2 separate regions of the Homo sapiens genome follow, and region 1 is linked to region 2. Evidence: promoter capture Hi-C in 16 types of primary human blood cells and fetal thymus (Javierre and others, 2016). All regions are on one chromosome and are shown on one strand. Each heading gives the region's core, a stretch centred on a gene start or on the middle of the fragment in contact. The rest is flanking DNA. Distances are from core to core; before and after follow the strand shown. Region 1 holds the start of OR10H4 (olfactory receptor family 10 subfamily H member 4). Region 2 has its middle 3.4 kb from the start of TEKTL1.

The links. Contacts are between HindIII fragments. The CHiCAGO score rates a contact against its expected background, and 5 or more counts as called.
Region 1: the fragment with the promoter of OR10H4 here is called in contact with a fragment that was not itself captured in region 2 in 1 of 17 cell types (M2 macrophages); the score reaches 5.9 in M2 macrophages.

Annotation. Positions count from the first base shown.
Region 1 is chr19:15,945,663-15,951,074 of GRCh38, forward strand. OR10H4 (olfactory receptor family 10 subfamily H member 4) reads left to right here and starts at 3,346. Exons shown (of 1, transcript NM_001004465.1): 1 at 3,346-4,296. The coding sequence starts at 3,346. The coding sequence ends at 4,296. The HindIII fragment of the contact is 16,967 bases long and covers 2,465-5,412 here.
Region 2 is chr19:15,004,573-15,010,128 of GRCh38, forward strand. It overlaps a transcript of SLC1A6 not described here. Among named protein-coding and RNA genes, the nearest start is that of TEKTL1, 3.4 kb to the right of the region's middle. The HindIII fragment of the contact is 2,578 bases long and covers 1,292-3,869 here.

The DNA of each region.
Region 1 (5,412 bases), core at 2,096-4,595, 940 kb after region 2:
CTTTCAGCTCCATGTTAAAGAACAGCAGAGTTAGTGAGTATCCTTGGCTTTTTCTTGATCCTAAAATAATGCATCAAAAAGTTTCTTCATTTAGTGTATGTAGTATTTGCTAATTTTGTGCTATATATTCTATATTTAGATAAGAAAATCTCCTTGAATTTTGTGTTGTGAAGTGTTCTTTAAAAATCATAAATAGGAGTAGAGTTTAAGAAAAACATATTTATGCCTTTATTGAAATAATCATGATTTTTCTTTTTTAATCAACTCCTGTGATAAATCATATGATAGGTTTTCTGATGTTAGCCATCCTTGTCATTTGTGAAATAAATCTATACCACTTTATTATGGTAAACCATTTTTAATATACCATTAAATTTGACTAGGTTATGGTTTTATTCTGGAATTTAAAATCTGCATGGATAGGTGAAGTAGGCCTATAGTTGTCTCTTTTTCTTTTTTTTTTCTTTCTTTTTATTTTTTGAGACAGAATTTTGCTCTTGTTGCCCAGGCTGGAGTGCAATGGTGCAATCTCAGCTCACCACAACCTCCACCTCCCGGGTTGAAGTGATTCTCCTGCTTCAGCCTCCCAAGTAGCTAGGATTACAGGCATGCACCACCACACCTGGCTAATTTTGTATTGTTAGTACAGATGGGGTTTCTCCATGTTTTTCAGGCTGGTCACGAACTCCCGTGATCCACCCGCCTCAGCCTCCCAAAGTGCTGGGATTACAGGCGTGAGCCACCACCCCTGGCCAATTTGTCTCTTTTTTCAGCAAATATTCTTACCTGATTTTAGACTGAGATTGCATTAACCTGCTGAGATGTGCTGGTCAGATTTCCTAACACTTTTCTATGTTTTTGAAGCTCATGTATAAGATACTAACTGTTTCTTAACATAATAATAATTGCTAAACTTTAATAAAACCCACTGGGGCAAAGATTTTAGAGAAAGACCATCTTTGACTACCATTTCAATTTATTTAAAGCTTATTTGAGCATACAAGGTCCCCATTTTTCTTGAACCAGTTTTAGAATTTTATATTTTTCTGAGTATTTGGTCATTTCATCTACAAAGTAAATTTATTATTTTTTAAAACTTATTAATTTAAACATATCCATTTTCTCTGTAATTATTTACCATTTTTAATTTGGAGTTTTGTTATTGGCACCTTCTCCTTGTTTCCCTCTATCTTCTCAATCTTTTCTCATGCGTGATTTTGGCTTTATTAAGCATGAACTTTTCTTGAGGCAGTTTCTTGATAAATCTATTTAGTGCCATGTATTTCCCTCAAAGTACTATTTTAGGTTAAAATGTTGACATTCAATATTTGAATAATCATTTAATTCTAAAGCTTTCTTAATTTTTATAATTTACTGTTGAACCTGAAGATTATTCAATTATATAGTTAGCTTCCAAGCATATGAGATTTGAAAAGCTATTTCTTCTCTATTAATTTTTAATGTTAATGCATTATCATTTAAATAACATTTATACTTTGGAATTAAAGAATTTTTTATATCTTAATGAAATGTCAGTTTTTGTAAAAGTATCCATGTGCTTGAAAAAATATTTATTCTCTGGTGAAGAGTCTAATATATAATAGCTAATATTTATTAATTGCATTGTAATTATTAATTGCATTGCAATTAATAATTAATAAATTACATTTCTGAACTCTGTTAAACTTTCTAACTATAATATCTATCTGTCATTGATTTAGTTATTATTCCAGGATTATTATCCTTAATATTCCAGGATATATAGTAATGTAGACATTATATTTATGCTGATTGCTATAATGTTCTTTTAAATGGTATGAATATTATTCTCTATCCTTTAGCGTGTGTGATTTCAAAATTTTAGCATGCATCAAGAAACAACATTTTTCTTCACAGCCGAAATAACCAGATTGCACTTTTAAAAAATAATTAGTTGGGCATGGTGGCTCATGCCTGTAATCCCAGCACTTTGGGAGGATGACATAGGAAGATCACTTGAGGCCAGGAGTTAGAGACTAGTTTGGGCAAGAATGTGAGGCCCAGTCTCTATGGAAAAAATTTTTTTTTAATTAGACAGGTGAGGTGGCACACAACTGTAGTCCCAGCTATTTAGGAGGCTGAGGCAGAGGATTGCTTGAGCCCAGGAGTTCCGGGATGCAGTGAATCACGATCCTACTCTAACCTGGGGGACAGAGCAAGACCTGTCTCTAAATAATTAGTAATTAGATCAATAATAATGCTTTAATATTACTCATACCTAATCATTCATTCATACTATAATCAAAATGTTCTCCATTGCCTTAAAAATACTTACAGCTGGTTATGGAAATGAAGATTCAACTGGTCCCCTATGTTGCATCCAGTTGCTATGTCCCCGAATCTCTCTTATCTTTTGGATGAGCCTTTATCAATGAGACCAGACCAATTGTTCTGTGGAATTATCCACCTTCTGAATTTTTCTGAAAGCTTCCTCACATTGTCATTTAGCTTATTCCTCCATCTTCTGTACAATGATTATTCTTTTTGACTAGTGGGCATCTTTTCAATCTAGTACTTGCAGTCTTTTAATATTATCCCATTACTTAGTGAAGGTTTCATTTCACACTGGTACAAGATATCCAAGGCTTTCTTCCATGTCCAGATCACAGATTTGCCATGTCTCAAGGAACTCTGGTTCCCTGCAGTGGCATATGGTATTAAAGACATTGTGATCACTGTTTCCTTAGATTCCACCTTTTATTATTATTAAGATTGCAACCTCAGCTTTTATTTGGTGCATATTTGTCTGACATGTATGTATCCAGCCATTTCTTTTCAAATTTTCTGTTCAATTTTTTTAGAATAGTAAATGCACCATTTGAAATTAGATGGCATAAATGAGTACCAATAAAACAGTATTAAAATAAATGTAAATGGGTTAAATAAGCAACTAAAAGACAAAGACTCCCAGGGAAAAAAGATTTAAACCCCAAGATCAAAATACATGTTTTCTAGAACTGGCACATTATCAAGAGAACCTGACCCTGATCATCTATGCTGGTCTCTAATGGCTCCAAGTATTGAACCTTTTCTTTATGTTAGTCAGTGTTAATAGAAACCCAATTAGTAGCCAAAATCTGACTTGATCATCTAATATAGTGATCTCATTTGATCTTTGTCACATTGCTGAATGTTAAGAACTATTATTATTTATTCCATTTTACAGATGAGGAAAGTGAGACCCAGAAAATTCTGCTGGTTGTTGAATAGCATAGAGCTGTTGAGTTGCCATTTGGTCTGTGATAGAGTCTATGTTTTAACCACTGTCACTTAATTTTGTTTCTGATCTCACCAGATACAGTATCCATGCCTAGTCAGAACTATAGCATCATATCTGAATTTAACCTCTTTGGCTTCTCAGCCTTCCCCCAGCACCTCCTGCCCATCTTGTTCCTGCTGTACCTCCTGATGTTCCTGTTCACATTGCTGGGCAACCTTCTCATCATGGCCACAATCTGGATTGAACACAGACTCCACACACCCATGTACCTCTTCTTGTGCACCCTCTCCGTCTCTGAGATTCTGTTCACTGTTGCCATCACCCCTCGCATGCTGGCTGATCTGCTTTCCACCCATCATTCCATCACCTTTGTGGCTTGTGCCAACCAGATGTTCTTCTCCTTCATGTTTGGCTTCACTCACTCCTTCCTTCTCCTGGTCATGGGCTATGATCGCTATGTGGCCATCTGCCACCCACTGCGTTACAATGTGCTCATGAGCCCCCGTGACTGTGCCCATCTTGTGGCCTGTACCTGGGCTGGTGGCTCAGTCATGGGGATGATGGTGACAACGATAGTTTTCCACCTCACTTTCTGTGGGTCTAATGTGATCCACCATTTTTTCTGTCATGTGCTTTCCCTCTTGAAGTTGGCCTGTGAAAACAAGACATCATCTGTCATCATGGGTGTGATGCTGGTGTGTGTCACAGCCCTGATAGGCTGTTTATTCCTCATCATCCTCTCCTATGTCTTCATTGTGGCTGCCATCTTGAGGATTCCCTCTGCCGAAGGCCGGCACAAGACATTTTCTACGTGTGTATCCCACCTCACTGTGGTGGTCACGCACTATAGTTTTGCCTCCTTTATCTACCTCAAGCCCAAGGGCCTCCATTCTATGTACAGTGACGCCTTGATGGCCACCACCTATACTGTCTTCACCCCCTTCCTTAGCCCAATCATTTTCAGCCTAAGGAACAAGGAGCTGAAGAATGCCATAAATAAAAACTTTTACAGAAAATTCTGTCCTCCAAGTTCCTGAGCGCCAGTTTGGTGGTGATGAAATATAATAATGTGTATCTCCATAGGGCTGTTGTAAGTGTTCAGGTATGTGAAAATATGTGTTTGATACATACTAGCTATTGTTTTCCCTTCCCTTTTTGCTTAAGCTCAAGTGATCATAATCTTTTCTTTATGAGCCATTATGATGACCTTTATCCCATTATCTGTGCCTAGAAATGTGTTTTCTGTCCACGGACAGGTGGGGATCATCACGTGGATGTGTCTGGGCACTTATGAACACAGTTCTTCTTGAATGGACAGGCAAAAAAGATTTTATTTTCCCCTAGTGTAAGAAAAAGCAAGAATAACATGATAGTCATAAATGCCACCCAGCACTGAGCTTTTTCTATGTATTGGCACTGTGTCCAGTGTTTTATAAATATTATCCTTTTAATTAGAAGAAATGTACAAAGGAAAATAAACTATTTGCCTCAGATAAACTGGTTTCTTATTTAAAGTTCCTCACTGTCTTTGGGAGAGATATACCCTAAGTTTGTGTGTGGATATTAATATGTTGAGTTGAATGAAAGATGTTAGAATGCAAACGTTGAGAGAGGGCAAGAAGGAGATATATATATATATACACATACATATATACACACACACATATATATATACATATATATGTATACATATATATATACATACATATGTATACATATATACATATATATATATACATACATATGTATACATATATACATATATATGTATACATATATATGTATACATATATACAGAGACAGAGACAGAAGAAAGAGAGAGAGATACAGAGACAGAAGAAAGAGCAAAAGACAGAGAGAGAGAGAGGGAGAGAGAGAAAGCAGGTGTCAAGTAAAAAGAGAGTTCTTTAAATTTTTTATCTGTACAGGAAATGTAATAACTAAGAATTTGGGGCAAAATAGAAAAAAGGAGGTTGGTAATAGGGCTTTAATATGTCCTAATAATAGGGCTAATAAGGTAGCCTAATAAGATAGCCACGTGTCTCATCCCAGCGTTTTTGACACAGTTGCTCTGCAGTCTCAATGTGTCATTCTAAGATATGTACTTCCTTGCCTCCAATGGATGTATCAATTTTCTGGTTTTCTGTTTCTGG
Region 2 (5,556 bases), core at 1,331-3,830:
ACCTGTAGTTCCAGCTATTCAGGAGGCTGAAGCAAGAGATCTCTTGAGACCAGGAGTTGGAGGCTTTAGTGAGCCAAGATTGTGCCACTTCATTTCAGCCTGGGTGACAGAGTGAGACTCTGTCTCCAGAAAAAAAAAAAAGATTCTTATTCATTTCATTATGTTTCCCATATTTTATACATTTTATACAAGGTGCATACCTTGCTTTCATAGCTTATTTGTTAGTTTAAGAGAGGTATTTAGGCTTGGAGAGTACTGAAAAATTTTCCTAGTCCTCGGTCTTGTGTACATAATGTTTCTGTAGATTTTTTGAACATCACTGTTTCTGTTCAGACACACGCAGGTGAATCACTTGGAAAATGAGAGCTAATCCCAGCCCAGCAATGAATGGTTCCTTCCAGACAGGCCAGGCACAGTTGCTCACATCTGAAACCCCAGAGCTTTGGTAGGCCAAGGCGGGAGGATTGTTTGAGTCCAGGAGTTTGAGACTAGCCTGGGCAACATAGCAAGATCGTGTCTCTACAAAAACATTTTTAAATTAGCCAGGCATGGTAGCACATGCCCATAGGGCCAGCTACCCAGGAGGCTGAGGCAGGAGGATTGTTTAAGCCCAGGAGTTCAAAGTTGCAGTGAGCCATGATGGTACCACTGTACTCTACTCTGGGTGACAAAGCAAGACCCTGTCTCAAAAAAAAAAAAAAAAAAGCAGGGCACGGTGGCGGTCAGGAGTTCACGAATAGCCTGGCCAACAATGGTGAACAAATTGTTCTACTAAAAATACAAAAAATTAGCTGGGCGTGGTGGTGGGCATCTGTAATCCCAGCTACTCAGAAGGCTGAGGCAGGAGAATCACTTGAACCTGGGAGGCGTAGGTTGCAGTGAACCGAGATCGCGCCACTGCACTCCAGCCTGGGCAACAAGAGTGAAACTCCTTCTCACAAAAACAAAAAAACAAAAAAACCAGATAACTCACCTGTTCTTCAAATACATATCAGGCTAGAGAAGTGTCCAAAATGGGTCATCAAAGCCAGGAGCTAGCAGTGAGTTTTTGGAAGTTGATATAGAGAATGGAAACTGGGATTGGGAGATGGAAATGAGAAGTTGGTCTGATTAAGCAATGGTCTGCACCAATTTCAATGCTTAGATAATAGTATCATATACTAGCAGCGTGTTGGTGTCAGCGTGTTAAACTAATAAAAAGCCAGAATGTAACAGCCTGCATAGCCCTAATGCATTTCACCAGAGAGCCATGTGGAAGCCAAAATCCTCACATGCAGATCTGGCATGAGGAAGCTTCCTAAGCGTCTCTCAGGTAGCTTGGTACAAGTTCTGCCCAACAGAGGTGCTTCATACACCAGGCAGCAAGCCTACCCAAATGAGATCCCCTGGTTGGGAAGGTGGACGTACTTCATGAACAAAGCAAAGGTAGATGGTTGTGTGCAGGTCATCTCACATGAGGTGTCTCCCTGGTTCTTTGTGAAACCCTCTCTGGACCTCTTCTGGTTTTGAAATAGCTCATTCATGGATTCATTCTATTAATAAAAGTCAAAAGTAAACACTTACATAATGCTTACTAGGTGTCAGCCATGGTGCTAAGCACTTCATTCATATTAACTCATTGTCTCCATGCCACAATCCTATTACCTGAGTTGACAGATGGGGCAACGCAGGCACAGAGATGTTAAGTGAATTGCTCGAGATCACGTAGACAGCAAGTGGCAGAATCATAATTTGAATCCTAGTTCATCTGGATCCAGAATACAGACCATAATATCCTCCTGATGCTCATGAAAATTTGTTGAACCAGATACCACTGGTCCCAGCAGCAAATGACTGTGCTAACCCCATATTCCCAAGCCTCCATCGCCAAAGGTTATCTGGCCCCATTTCTTGCTAGTGGCCCTAAAGAACATAACGGCGGGTCTCCAGGATGGCTGGCGTGGGAGTCGCTGGTTGCCCATCTTATTCCCCCCACCCCCCATTACTGAATGATCCCTTGATTACAAACCCAGGGTCATTCATTCTTTCTTGACTGTCGCACCTCTCATTCACTCAATACGAAAATATTTGGACAGGCACGGTGGCTCATGCCTGTAATCCCAGCACCTTTGTAGGCCGAGGCAGGAGAATTACTTAAGGCCAGGAGACCAAGACCAGCCAGGGAAAGATAGCAAGACCCTGTCTCTACAAAAAAAAAAAAAGAAAAAGAAAAGAAAAGAAAATTTAAAAATAAGCTATGCATGGTGGCACATGCCCGTAGTCCTAGATACTTAGGAGGCTGAGAGTGAGAGGATCCCTTGAGTCCAGGAGGTTGAGGCTGCAGTGAGCCATGATCGTGCTACTGCACTCCAGCCTGGGTGACAGAGTGTGATCCTGTCTGAAAAAATAAAATAAAATAAAAATAAAACATGTATTGATTCTTCCACTTACGTATTCCTCTAATAAGTACGTATTGAGTGCTTGCCATGAGCCACTATCTGTGCTGGGTGCTCGGTAGTGGAATACAATGGTAAATAGGAGAGGCGAGGTCAATGCCCTCATGAAGCTCACAAGTGAAAAACAAATGTCCATCATTGGTCAGATGGATAAACAAAGTTATGGTATATAAATGCAATGGAATATGATTCAGCCATGAAAAGGACAGAAGCACTGATCCGTGCTACAACATGGACAAATCTGGAAAACACGATGCTGAGTGAGAGAAACCAGATACAAAAGGCCACATAGTGTGAGACTCCATTGACATGAAATGTCCAGAACAGGCAAATCTACAGAGACAGGGAGCAGATGAGTGGTTACCAGGAGCTGAGGGGACAGGGGAATGAGAGTGAGCGCTCGTGGGGATGAGGTTTTATTTGGGGATTGGTGAAGTGTTCTAGAATTCGATACAAGTGGTGATTGCACCACACTGTGAAGGTGTTAATGCCTCTGAATTGTGCACCTTAAAATCATTCATTGTATTTATGAAAATTTCATCTCACAAAAAAAAATCAAGTAAGATGATCATAGCATGTGATTGATTCCATCCGTTTCTTTATCCTATGTGTATTAAGGACCCACTATGTGCTATGAACTATACAGACACTGAGGATACAAGACTAGCATGCTTCCTGTTCTAGAGGCTCTTAGAGTCAATCATCAGAGAAATGCCAATTAAAATCACAATGAGAGGCCGGGCACGGTGGCTCATACCTGTGGTCCCAGCACTTTGTGGGGGCGAGACGGGTGGATCATCTGAGGTCAGGACTTTGAGACCAGCCTGGCTAACATGGTGAAACCCCATTTCTACTAAAAATACAAAAATTAGCCGGGTGTGGTGACACGCACCTGTAATCCCAGCTACCCGGGAGGCTGAGGCAGAAGAATCGCTTGAACCCAGGAAGCAGAGGTTGCAGTGAGTCGAGATCATGCCACTGCACTCCAGCTTGGGAAACAAGATCAAAAGTCTGCCCCCCCCCCAAAAAAAAACCAACCACACACACACAATGAGTCTGGGTGCAGTGGCTCAGGCTTATAATCTCACCATTTTGGGAGGCTGAGGTGGGAGGACTGCTTGAGCCCAGGAGTCTGAGACCAGCCTGGGCAATGTTAGCAAGACTCTGTCTTTACACAAAATTTAAAAATTAGCCAAGTGTGGTGGCGTGCGCCTATAGTCCTCGCTTTTTGGGAGACTGAGGCAGAAGGATGGCTTGATATCAGGAGTTGGAGGCTGCAGTGAACCATGATCCCCCCACTGCACTCCAGCCTGGGCCACAAAGTGGGGCTCAGTCTCTTTAGAAAAAGAGAGATATATATATACAGAATATCTATTATTTTAAAAGTAAAAAGAAAAAAAAACAGAGGTTGGCAAGGATGCAGAGAAAAGGGAAAGCTTATACACTGTTGGTGGGGATGCAAATTAGTACAACCTCTAGGGAAACAGATGGCAATTTCTCAAAGAACTAAAAATAGAACTGCCCTTTGATCCAGCAATCCCACTGCTGAGTATATACCTAAAGGAAGAGAAATCATTATATTAAAAAGACATCCACACTTACATGTTTATGGCAGCACTATTCACTATAGCAAAGTTATGGAATCAACTTATGTGTCCATTAGCAGATGATTGGATGTTAAAATATGGTATACAAGCTGGGTGCGGTGATTTCCCCCTGTAATCTCAGCATTTTGGGAGGTCAAGGAAGTCGAATTGCTTGAGTCCAAGAGTTTGAAACCAACCTGGGTAACATGGCAAAAACCCCACCTCCACTAAAAAAACAAAAATAATTCGCGTTTTTTTTTTTTTTACAGGCAGGCACCTGTAATTTCAGCTATTCAGGAGGCCAAGGTGATGGAATCAGCTGAGCCTGGGAGGCAGAGGTTGCAGTGAGCCGAGATCATGCCACTGCACTTCAGCCTGGGAAATTGGAGTGAGATCTTGTCTCAAATATATAAACATATATATATAAAATATACATATATGCTATCTACACAGATCACATAGATATGCTATCTAGATAGCATATATATATCGGATACAAATGCCCTATAAATAGCATATCTATCATATATCTAGATAGCATATATATATCACATAGATATGCTATCTAGACAGCATATATATAGCATATCTATACCAAATACATATGCCCTATATATAGCATATCTATCACATAGATATGCTATCTAAATAGCATATATATCACATAGATATCTATATATCTATAAATATCATATATATGCTCTCTAGATAACATATATATCACATAGATATCCTATCTACATGGCACATATATATAGCATATATGTCACATGTATGTGCTCTATATATAGCAGATATATATCACATATATATGCCGTGGAATACTTAGCCATAAAAAACAGTGAAATCTTGTCTTCTGCAGCAACATGGAGGGAACTAGAGGCCATTATCTTAAGTGAAATGACCGAGAAATAGAAAGTCAAAAAAACTCATGTTCTCACTTCTAAGTGGAAGCTAAACCATGGGTACACATGGACAAACAGAGTGGAAAACAGACATTGGAGGCTCCCGTAGGTAGGAGGGTGAGAAGGGGGTGAGGGATACAGTACTACCTATTGGCTACAATGTACACTATTTGGGTGATGATTGCACTAAAAGCCTAGTCTTCACCACTAGAAAATATATCCATGTAGCAAAACTGCACTTGTATCCCAAATCCATAAAAATAAATTTTTTTTAAAGGCTCTTAATTCTTCTAGGGCAGGTGAGAGATGCCCAAAAGTTAAAAAGTAAACCAATAAATGAATAAGATAATTTCAGATAGCGGTGAGTGCTATGAAGACACGAAAGAAAATGTAAGACTAAGCCAGGCGTGGTGGCTCACGCCTGTAATGCCAGCACTTTGGGAGGCCGAGGCAGGAGAATCACGAGGTCAGGAGTTCGAGACCAGCCTGGCCAACATGGCGAAACCCCGTCTCTACTAAAAAAAAAAAATGCAAAAAATTAGCTGGGCATGGTGGTGGGCGCCTGTAAGCCCAGCTACTCAGGAGACTGAGGCAGGAGAATCTCTTGAACCCGAGAGGTGAAGATTGCAG